Linked DNA regions of Homo sapiens: region 2 is linked to region 1. Evidence: promoter capture Hi-C in human tissues and cell types (Jung and others, 2019). All regions are on one chromosome and are shown on one strand. The core of a region is centred on a gene start or on the middle of the fragment in contact, and the rest is flanking DNA. Distances in the headings are between cores, read along the strand shown.

Region 1 (4,096 bases), core at 582-3,081:
CTTGGTAGAATGCCAGGCACATGGTAGATCCTATTAAATATCCATTGAATAAAATGAACAACACTTCGGGTGCATCAAGTGTATCCAGATTTAATTGAAATTTTTGCCATGAGACTCAAACTTGGTTTCCAAGATGTTGACTCCTGAGTCTTACTATATTCTCTGGAGTTCTGGAACCTGTTTGGTATTCGGAGAGAACTTTCCTCTCTCCTTTTATCTCCTGTCAATATGCATTTAGTACTTGAAGAGGTTAAACTGTCAATTTCGCATGTTATATATCTTGCAACTTAATTTTGCATGTTGTATATCTTGCAACCAGGTTTAAGGACCTTTGGAGCCTAGAAGAATAAATGCCTCACACACAGCAAGGTCACAGCAAAAATAATTAATTTATTTATTACAACAATAAAGGGCAAATCATAATTCCTATGTTTTCTTTAGTTAGAGATTGTCTAACTAATTTTTCTTTCCTTTAATTTGAGCTATATTGGATCAGTTTGCATTTTTCTGTATGCTTTGAGGTGTTTTCTCACGTTTTCTTAAAATAGAAGATCCAGTCTTTTTCAATATCTATCCCTGCTTTCACCACATTACCCCTTATATAGGTGCACACAAAGGGACCCTCATTTGAATCATTGCTAATGGATTGATTATTGTGGATTGTGATCCAATTCTCCACAAACCTGATCTTTAAAAACATTCCAGTTGTCTCATGTTGCCAATAAGTTTCTAACTAGCTTGACTTGCTACTGACTGGACACCTTTCAGTTCCACAGAGAAGAATCACCAACTCATACTGGGTACCTGGGTACCTGGGTGTCTGAAACACCCATTAAACCTGTTGGATGGATGGATGGATGGATGGATGGATGGATGGATGGATGGATGGATGGATGCATGGACAAATGAATGGGTGGATGGGTTGTATACTTGGCCATTCTCACCAAGACAACATACATGGACAGTCTGTCTTTAATACATTTTTCCAAGAATTTTTATAAGGCCAGAGTTGGAAAGAGCCCCCAGATTTATCTATAACAATCTGGGTATGACCCAGGAATCTTTACAACCTCCCTAGTTAACCCAGTCCAAAGTCCATGAGCTGAAACTTAGTGTCTGTTGATCTGCCTGGCTTCTTTTTCTCTTAGACTCCTTGCCTTTCTTTCTGTACATTTTTTCAATCTTTTGACGGGGCAAAGGGAACATGGCTCCTACTGTGGGAAGGGTTTTAGTTGAAATAAAAATTATTCATATTGAGAAAAACCAGCAAATGCTAATTAGGAGAGTGACAGAATCTTCCCCTAAGTTTTAAATACACACGCACACACACACACACACAAACACACACACACACAAAGACAATAAGTGGTTCCTGGGCAGAAAGCTAGGAGGGTTGGATTAGCCCTCCAGTCTAGTCCCCAACCTCCCCAAGCCTCCTGTAGATGGACAACAAGGGTGCTCCCCTTCTTCCCAGCCTGAAGCCCTACTCACTGTAGATGGTCTGATGGGGTGCGCCATCCACATGGCCATTCTTGTGGATCTGCAGGTGGTAGCTGTTCCTGGCTGTGGCTGTGTACAGGTGGATCAGGCCACCCCAGCTGGAGCCGAGCAGTGGGGAGGCATTGGGATAGGCTCTGAGGACGCTCATGCTGCAGACGCTGCACAAGGCACAGACCCAGAGCCTGAGGCGGGCCCCCAACATCGTGCCCTGCTCTGAGTGGCTGGTGCTGAGATTGAAACCTGACACTCCTGTCGGGACTCTCCTGGCCCAGGCCTTACTGGCCTTTTCCTTCTCCCTTGCAAGTAGCTGGTGTGAGGATCCTAGACTGGATTCCCTCCTTTTTGCCGTCAGACTTTTAAAGGGTAGCAGTGTGACATCAAACAGGAAAAACTCCACTGTCCACATCCTCTGTGTTGTAATCAGCCCATTGAAAGAAAGTGCAAAGACCCCGGAGGCGCACGGAAGGCACGTCGGTTCCAGACACACACACCCCTCAATTTCAAGCCAACGCTCCAAAAAATGAATGACGTGTGGGCAAAAGTTATCTGCCACTCTGGGCTGTCTGTTGACCTGTCCCACTTCCATCAGGAAATGTGAAGGCAGCCAGCGGTTCCCAAAAAAAATCCAGCTTCAGTCAAGCAGTCAACCGACTCCTAGGCAATTAATCTCCTGTCGAGTTTACTTATTTTGGTTTTCTTTAAATTCCAATCAGCAAGTATGTATCCAGTGCTTAATCTGTGAGCAGGATTTGGTGGGTAGCTTGCAGGATATAGAGATACATGACACCATCAGGCAGATGGCATCCTCTAAGAACACCCACTTCATGAAAGATGGGAGCTAGGAGCAGGGGCACAAAAGCCAAAGTTGCCATTTTGGGAAGATTTTGAAATGGAAGAAAAAGAAGTAAGGCCTTGAGGTCAGTGAACATGCCAAGGTTCAGTTTCTCAGCTTCCTTAGTCTGGACTTCACTGAATATGCCAAGGTTCAATTTCTCAATTTCCCTAGTTTGGACTATCGAGGGCAACTAAACTAGTAGTCTCTCCAGTAGTAAGGAGACTCATTCAGAGACCTCATGGGGATTGGAACAGCTGCTGGCTGAGCACTGGGGATCCGAGCCTCAGGACAGGGTGTCCCCACATTTAGTGTCTGTACATGAGTGCTCAGCTTGGTGTTGGATGCCTGCCTGCAGATGCTGTTCACAGTGAGCCCTCTGGGAAGCTACACCTGATGTCGGGTGGAATAGTCCTGGCACATACAGTCTAAAGGGGAGCAAGCTACTGGAACACACACCCGAAAAAACACACAAGGAGTTTGCTATTCTTCCAGTTTCCCTGTACTGAGTATATGCCATGTACAGGCATCAAGCTAGACTCATGTACAGGTTGATATAGGAGACAGCAAGATGTGATTCCTATCTTGAGGAGCTCAAATCTAATGCAGGAGGCAGATAAAAATAAGTAACTATAATACAAAATGAGTGCAAGCTTACAGGTATAGACAGAAAGAGATGGCATTTGTTACCCTACATTTGTACAGTTTTTTTTTATAGTTTACAAAGCATTTTCACATCTATTAGCTTATTTGAACCTCACTGCCACTCTGTGAGATAGGCACTCCATGCATTATCAAGATTTTAATACTTTACATGAAGAAATGGAAATCTTAGTGTTTCCATGTCCAAAGGCACAAAGCAAATAAATGGTAGAGCCAGGACAAGGTCTTCTCCTTCCCTAGGCTGCTTCTCCAAAGAATCACAGCAAGAACTAACGCTCATGGAGAGCTTACTGTTCCACTTACTGCTCTAAGTGCTTTACTTGTAGTAACCCATTTCATCTTCAGAATAACTCTTTGAGGAGATGCTGTTATTTTCTTTATATAGATCAGGAAACTGATCTATGCACACAGTTTAAGTAACTTGCCTAGAGATAGAAAGGTAACATGTGGAAGAGGTTGGATTTGAATCCAGGTCTGGCCCCAAGACCTCCTAAGCACTTTTCAAGGTGTCCAAACCCATACAACATGTTAGAGCTAAAGCCATGAGAGCCAGGAGCTTGGTAAAAAAGTGCAGGTGGCAAAGCAGTCCTCTGTTATTCTCTAAAAACCCAGGCTTTTACCCAGGATGAATCTCTAGGACACATGGTGCTTGTCTCCCCAGGGTTGAGTGGAAGAAGTATGACATGAAATGTTTATATGTAAAACAGTCTTCTTTACTAATAGCCACAGAATGGATTATAAATATAATGCTACGTCTTAGCTAATTGAAGAAATAGCTAGCTTTCAGAATTGAGATGCAAATCACTTAGGAACATTTGCCCTGCATTTCTTATTCTGGTTGTGAAAGGTAAAGAGATGGGAAGTAATTATAAGGCAATCAGCAGCCATTGAGAACCTTCTCCATGTAAGAGATGAAAGGGAGGGTGTAGGACTACAAAGCAGGACTAACTCCTCTAGGGGCTCCCAGTGTAACTGAGCAGGGAACATCTTCGTTCAATACAAGGCACTGTGTGGGAGGAGCTTCATTACTAGGAGCAAATTAGTGAAGATGTGGTACTATATTTATAAACCATTCTGTGGCCATTACTAAAGAAGCCTGCT
Region 2 (4,625 bases), core at 1,555-4,054, 150 kb after region 1:
AACAAAATGGGAATGCCCTCAGCACACACGAATACATCCAGGGAGGTACAGATGCCTATCCCAAGGGCTGCCTCCTCAACTCATCGGAGGAAACTGATACACTGAGAAGTCAAAGATCATATGACTTAATGGCATTAAGTGGAAATAAAACAAAGATTTTGATGTTTTTTCCATTATAGATCTTTGCAAAAGATACCTGTAAAAAAAAAAACTAAATTCTTCCCTTTTCTTACCCACGAAAATATTAAAAACTGGAATTTATAATATGACTTAAGAGTAATAATTTACCTTAAAACAAACAAACACATCACATAAACAGCTATCTTGAACTCAGTCAGTCAACAGGAAAACTTTTCTAATTTGTTCTCTTTCACTTCAATCAGTTGCCACATCAAAAGGCAGGAGACTAGCTGAACCTAGAACTACGATTTCATCTACTCTATGCCTCTGAAACTCCAAAACTGTTCTGATAACTGTTCATCTTTAGACGTGCGACTGCTGTAGGAATTATAACCAGCCTATGGGACTTAACTTCTGTTTAAAATTCACTTCAGGGCAAAGTTGAAATTTTGTAGGGAGGAGCTACTGTAAGACTGTAGGGATGTGCTTGGCCACACACAACACCAGATGTTCAGTAGCCCCACTACCAGATCATCTAACTACAAAAATCTGCAGCATTAATTTTAAACTCAGCCTAGGGGAAGCTTTATGAATAGGTAGAAGATACCTACGTGAGAAGAACTAAGCATAGGTTTTTCCTTGACCTAATTTACGCCACTCCCTCAGGACAGATGCTACTAGAAAGGGGACTGGGACGGCTGAGAGGAATGGGGCACTGAGGAAGTGACTGCAGAGAGAAAGCGATTCAATGTCCAGGCCATTATTTCTCCACCTCCACTTTCAGGCATAACGCCTGACTTCTTTGAGGTTCAAACCATTCAGCACCCCTTATCTTTCATGGCCATCATTATCTAACAACCTACCTGTCTGTCACTCACCCTCATTCCTGTAAAGCTTTGGCACCAAGTTCAAAGAATTCCTCTCTGCCCCACATCCTGCCATCAACCTGGGTTACTTGGATATCCATGTGGAAACCCATCCAAGGCACTGCCTTCTTACTTTCCCGAACTCTACAATCTTTACTGTGGAGTCCCAATTAGGGAAAAGGAATCAGGCTGGCAGGACCAGGGGAAAGCAAAAAGAGAAAGCAGATAAGCTATAAGTCTGCCTTTCCTCATGGTCCAGACCAAGCTTGTCCAACCTGTGGCACAGGATGGCTTTGAATGCCGCCCAACACAAATTCATAAATTGTGAATTTTTTTTTTTTTTTTTTTTTAGCTCATCAGCTATCCCTCATGTTAATGTATTTTATGTGTGGCCGAAGACAATTCTTCTTCCAGTGTGGCCCAGGGAAGCCAAAAGATTGGACACCCCTGGTCCAGGCCACGTAGCCCTCCTGCACTCACCTTTCACCAGACACCTGCAAGATAGCTGCAAGACTGCAGCTCACTGCAGTCTTGGGGTTATCAGTACTGCACACAGCACTGTACAGCATACAGCATAAACGCTGTCCTATAAAATCTCCAGCAAGCCTTTGTTTCCTTGAAGTCAGCTTCTCTTCTGTTGGCCTGCCCATTGCCTCCTCGCAACATATTTTCCTACTTTCTCTAATAAACCTACCTTTCTTTATCTACAACTGTCTTGGTAAATTCTTTTACCCCTGTACCACCAGCCCAGATAGTCATCGTTTACCTGCAACATTTACTAGTTCTCCACACCACCTCAGCCATCCATTTAGTATCCTCACCAGAAACTCAGTCCGTCAGTATTCAAACATTCTAGTCTCTGACTACAACCTCCACCCAAGATTTCTCGCTCAATAATCCCCAGGTAATTGATATTTAACCTCATCAGGACCTCCACTTCATAAGTTTCTCAATGTTTTCATTTTTTTTTAAATCAGCCATCAACTGCCACTTAGCTTCACTTCTTTCCCTATGTAGCTTACATTTTGTGATCTAGCATTCAACCACTGTCTTGCCGATATCCTCAACTCCCTTGACTGATGTACCTTATATTACCCACCTAACAAAACCCTCATCTTATTCCTCTTCTCTATGCCTGCAGTCGGGCTTTAGAGAGCTGTAGCAGAAAAATCACAAAACTCTATAAAGTTTATGGTGACAAACTGGTGCCACTCTTAATCTTGGCCTCAATGATGCCTGGCAATCCTATCATTCGCTGCTCGGTTTTCTCCTTAAATATCCAACAATCTTTTTATACCTACTGCCTCATCTAAACAAATAACCTGTCTTTCCTTAAAGTTGAAACACTCAGAAGAGAATATTCTCAACTTCCTGCTACCAAATTAATAAAATTATCTGAATTTATATCCAACCTTTCCTGCTTCTCTTTGGCTGTAAGTGGAGAAGCATCTGTCTTCCCAGTTATGATTAATTCTCCATTTGAGTTCTGGATTCTATCCCTTCTAGTCCTAAACTTTGCCGCCTTAAAAAACAAACAAACAAACCTCTGACCTTGTGTTCCCATTTAGCCAGTGCCCCATCCTTCACCTCTTTATATTCGAACTTCTTCAGTTAGTATACTAATTCTTCCTATTTCCACACTCCCACATGCTTAGAGTCAGTGAAATCTCATTTCCACCACCACCAACTTACCGAAACTGATCTTGCCACAGACAAGATTACTTGATAAATACAATGGATATTTTTGAGTCTTTTCTTTGCCTCTTATACTTGATGTCATCTTGGCATTCTCTCATAGTTTAATTTGCAGTGCTCTTTCTTAGTAAATAAAATCATTTGTGATATACCTAATGGCATCTTAGACTTTATGAAACAGGGTATATTATTTAAATAGAAAATGATATGATGTGACTACACAACAATAATGAAGATAAGTTTATAAAAGTAAACCAAAGGTTACATGAATGCTGTTGCTGATTTAGGGTTGCCAGATAAAACACAGAACACTCACTTAAATTAGAATTTCAGATAAATAGTGAACAATTTTTTTTAGTATAAATATGTTCCATGTAATATGTTGATATACTAAAAAATATTCATTTATCTGAAATTCTAACTTAACTGGGTGTCCTATATTTTTAATTACTAAATCTGGAGACCCTGTGCTGGTGAGATATATGCAAGTAGCCTCTTGTTTTACAAAGGTATTACATAAATAGCATTTTGTCTTATGTGCTCACCCTGATATAGGAAGCACAGAAGCAGCAACATATACATTATAGAATATTGTATGTGGAGAAAAAGGATCTTATAACGATTTCAGGATTACCACAGCATTTTAAAAATTTTCACCAAAATCCAGAATATCCTTGAAATTTACAATCTGACCTATTTTCTTACCTCAGCATAAGCTTTGGCCCATGTACTCGCCAGCTGATGTAAATCTACTTCACCTGATTTCACAGCTGCCAGGGATGCTTCAGCATCTCTATCATAATCGCTGAGGGATTCTTCTTCTATAAACTGAGTCAGAGCTTCTTTTAAGTCTGTTACAGGGACATCAAACACCATCGTCAGCAAAATCCAGGTATAAATAGGGAACATTTTACTTGGCTGAGAATTCCAATGTGAAATCTTATTGTTAAATTTTTATTTTTTATTTAGAGATGGGGTCTCTCTCTCTGTTACACAGGCTGGAGTGCAGTGGCATGATCACAGTTCACTGCAGCCCTGAATTCCCGGACTCCAGTGATCCTCCCACCTCAGCCTCCCGAGTAGCTGGGACCACAGGTGCATGCCACCATGCATGGCTAATTTTTGTATTTTTGGTAAAGATAGGTCTCACCATGTTGCCCAGGCTGGTCTTGAACTCGTCAGCTCAAGTGATTCACCTGCCTTAGCCTCCCAAAGTGCTGGGATTACAGGTGTGAGCCACCTTGCCCAGACATGAAATTTTATTTTATCAAGCTGATACTCTTAATAGAATCTCCAACTAAAATGAAATCAGCTTAGGGGATCATTTAACTAATTTCATGATTATTTTCCTTTACTATTACAGGCTATTGCATAGAGAAAGGTCAAAAGTCTTAACTCTTACGTATTCCCTTGATACTAATAAAGTAATGTTACTTTCTTAAGCCTGATATTTCAGTTTGAAGCCAAGTGGGTATAAGGACATAAAGAAAATGCTACAGATTTTGAAGGTCTGAACATTACTGTATTTACATTAAAAAGAGTTTTCCATGTAACTTTAAAGGGTACATTGTTACATCCTTTGAAAGAGAAGTTAAATGACTAGCTTATTAACACATTTAACTTAGATGACTGACCGATTTCAGTTTTACAGACACCACTTAGAGAATGATATAACGGAAGAGCACTGAGAGAGAAGTTAGGACACCTGTGTTCTGGCTTTGGCTCTATTATTATCACTATGTTCGCGACTTTAGACTGTGGTTCACAATCTTAAGTGTGCATTAGAAACCCCTGGAGGCCTTATTTAAACAGACTGCCACATGCTACCCTAGTTTCTGATTCAGCAGAAATGGGATGCAGCCCGAGAATTTGCATGTCTAACAAGCTTGCAGGTGATGCTGTTGCTGCTAAATGATTAGAAACCATATTTCAAGAACCACTGCC

What was found. The method cuts DNA at HindIII sites, captures the fragments that hold promoters and counts their contacts. A contact is called where the count stands out against the background at its distance.
Region 2: a fragment that was not itself captured here is called in contact with the fragment with the promoter of FGF23 in region 1 in 2 of the 25 tissues and cell types used here (bladder and pancreas).

The regions. Positions count from the first base shown.
Region 1 is chr12:4,377,881-4,381,976 of GRCh38, forward strand. It overlaps FGF23 (fibroblast growth factor 23), which reads right to left and starts at 1,832. Exons shown (of 3, transcript NM_020638.3): 1 at 1,492-1,832. The coding sequence starts at 1,702. The HindIII fragment of the contact is 10,071 bases long and covers 1-4,096 here.
Region 2 is chr12:4,530,771-4,535,395 of GRCh38, forward strand. FERRY3 (FERRY endosomal RAB5 effector complex subunit 3) reads right to left here. Exons shown (of 14, transcript NM_020374.4): 3 at 3,387-3,532. Among named protein-coding and RNA genes, the nearest start is that of FERRY3, 5.4 kb to the right of the region's middle. RefSeq lists an enhancer at 4,600-4,625. The HindIII fragment of the contact is 5,337 bases long and covers 137-4,625 here.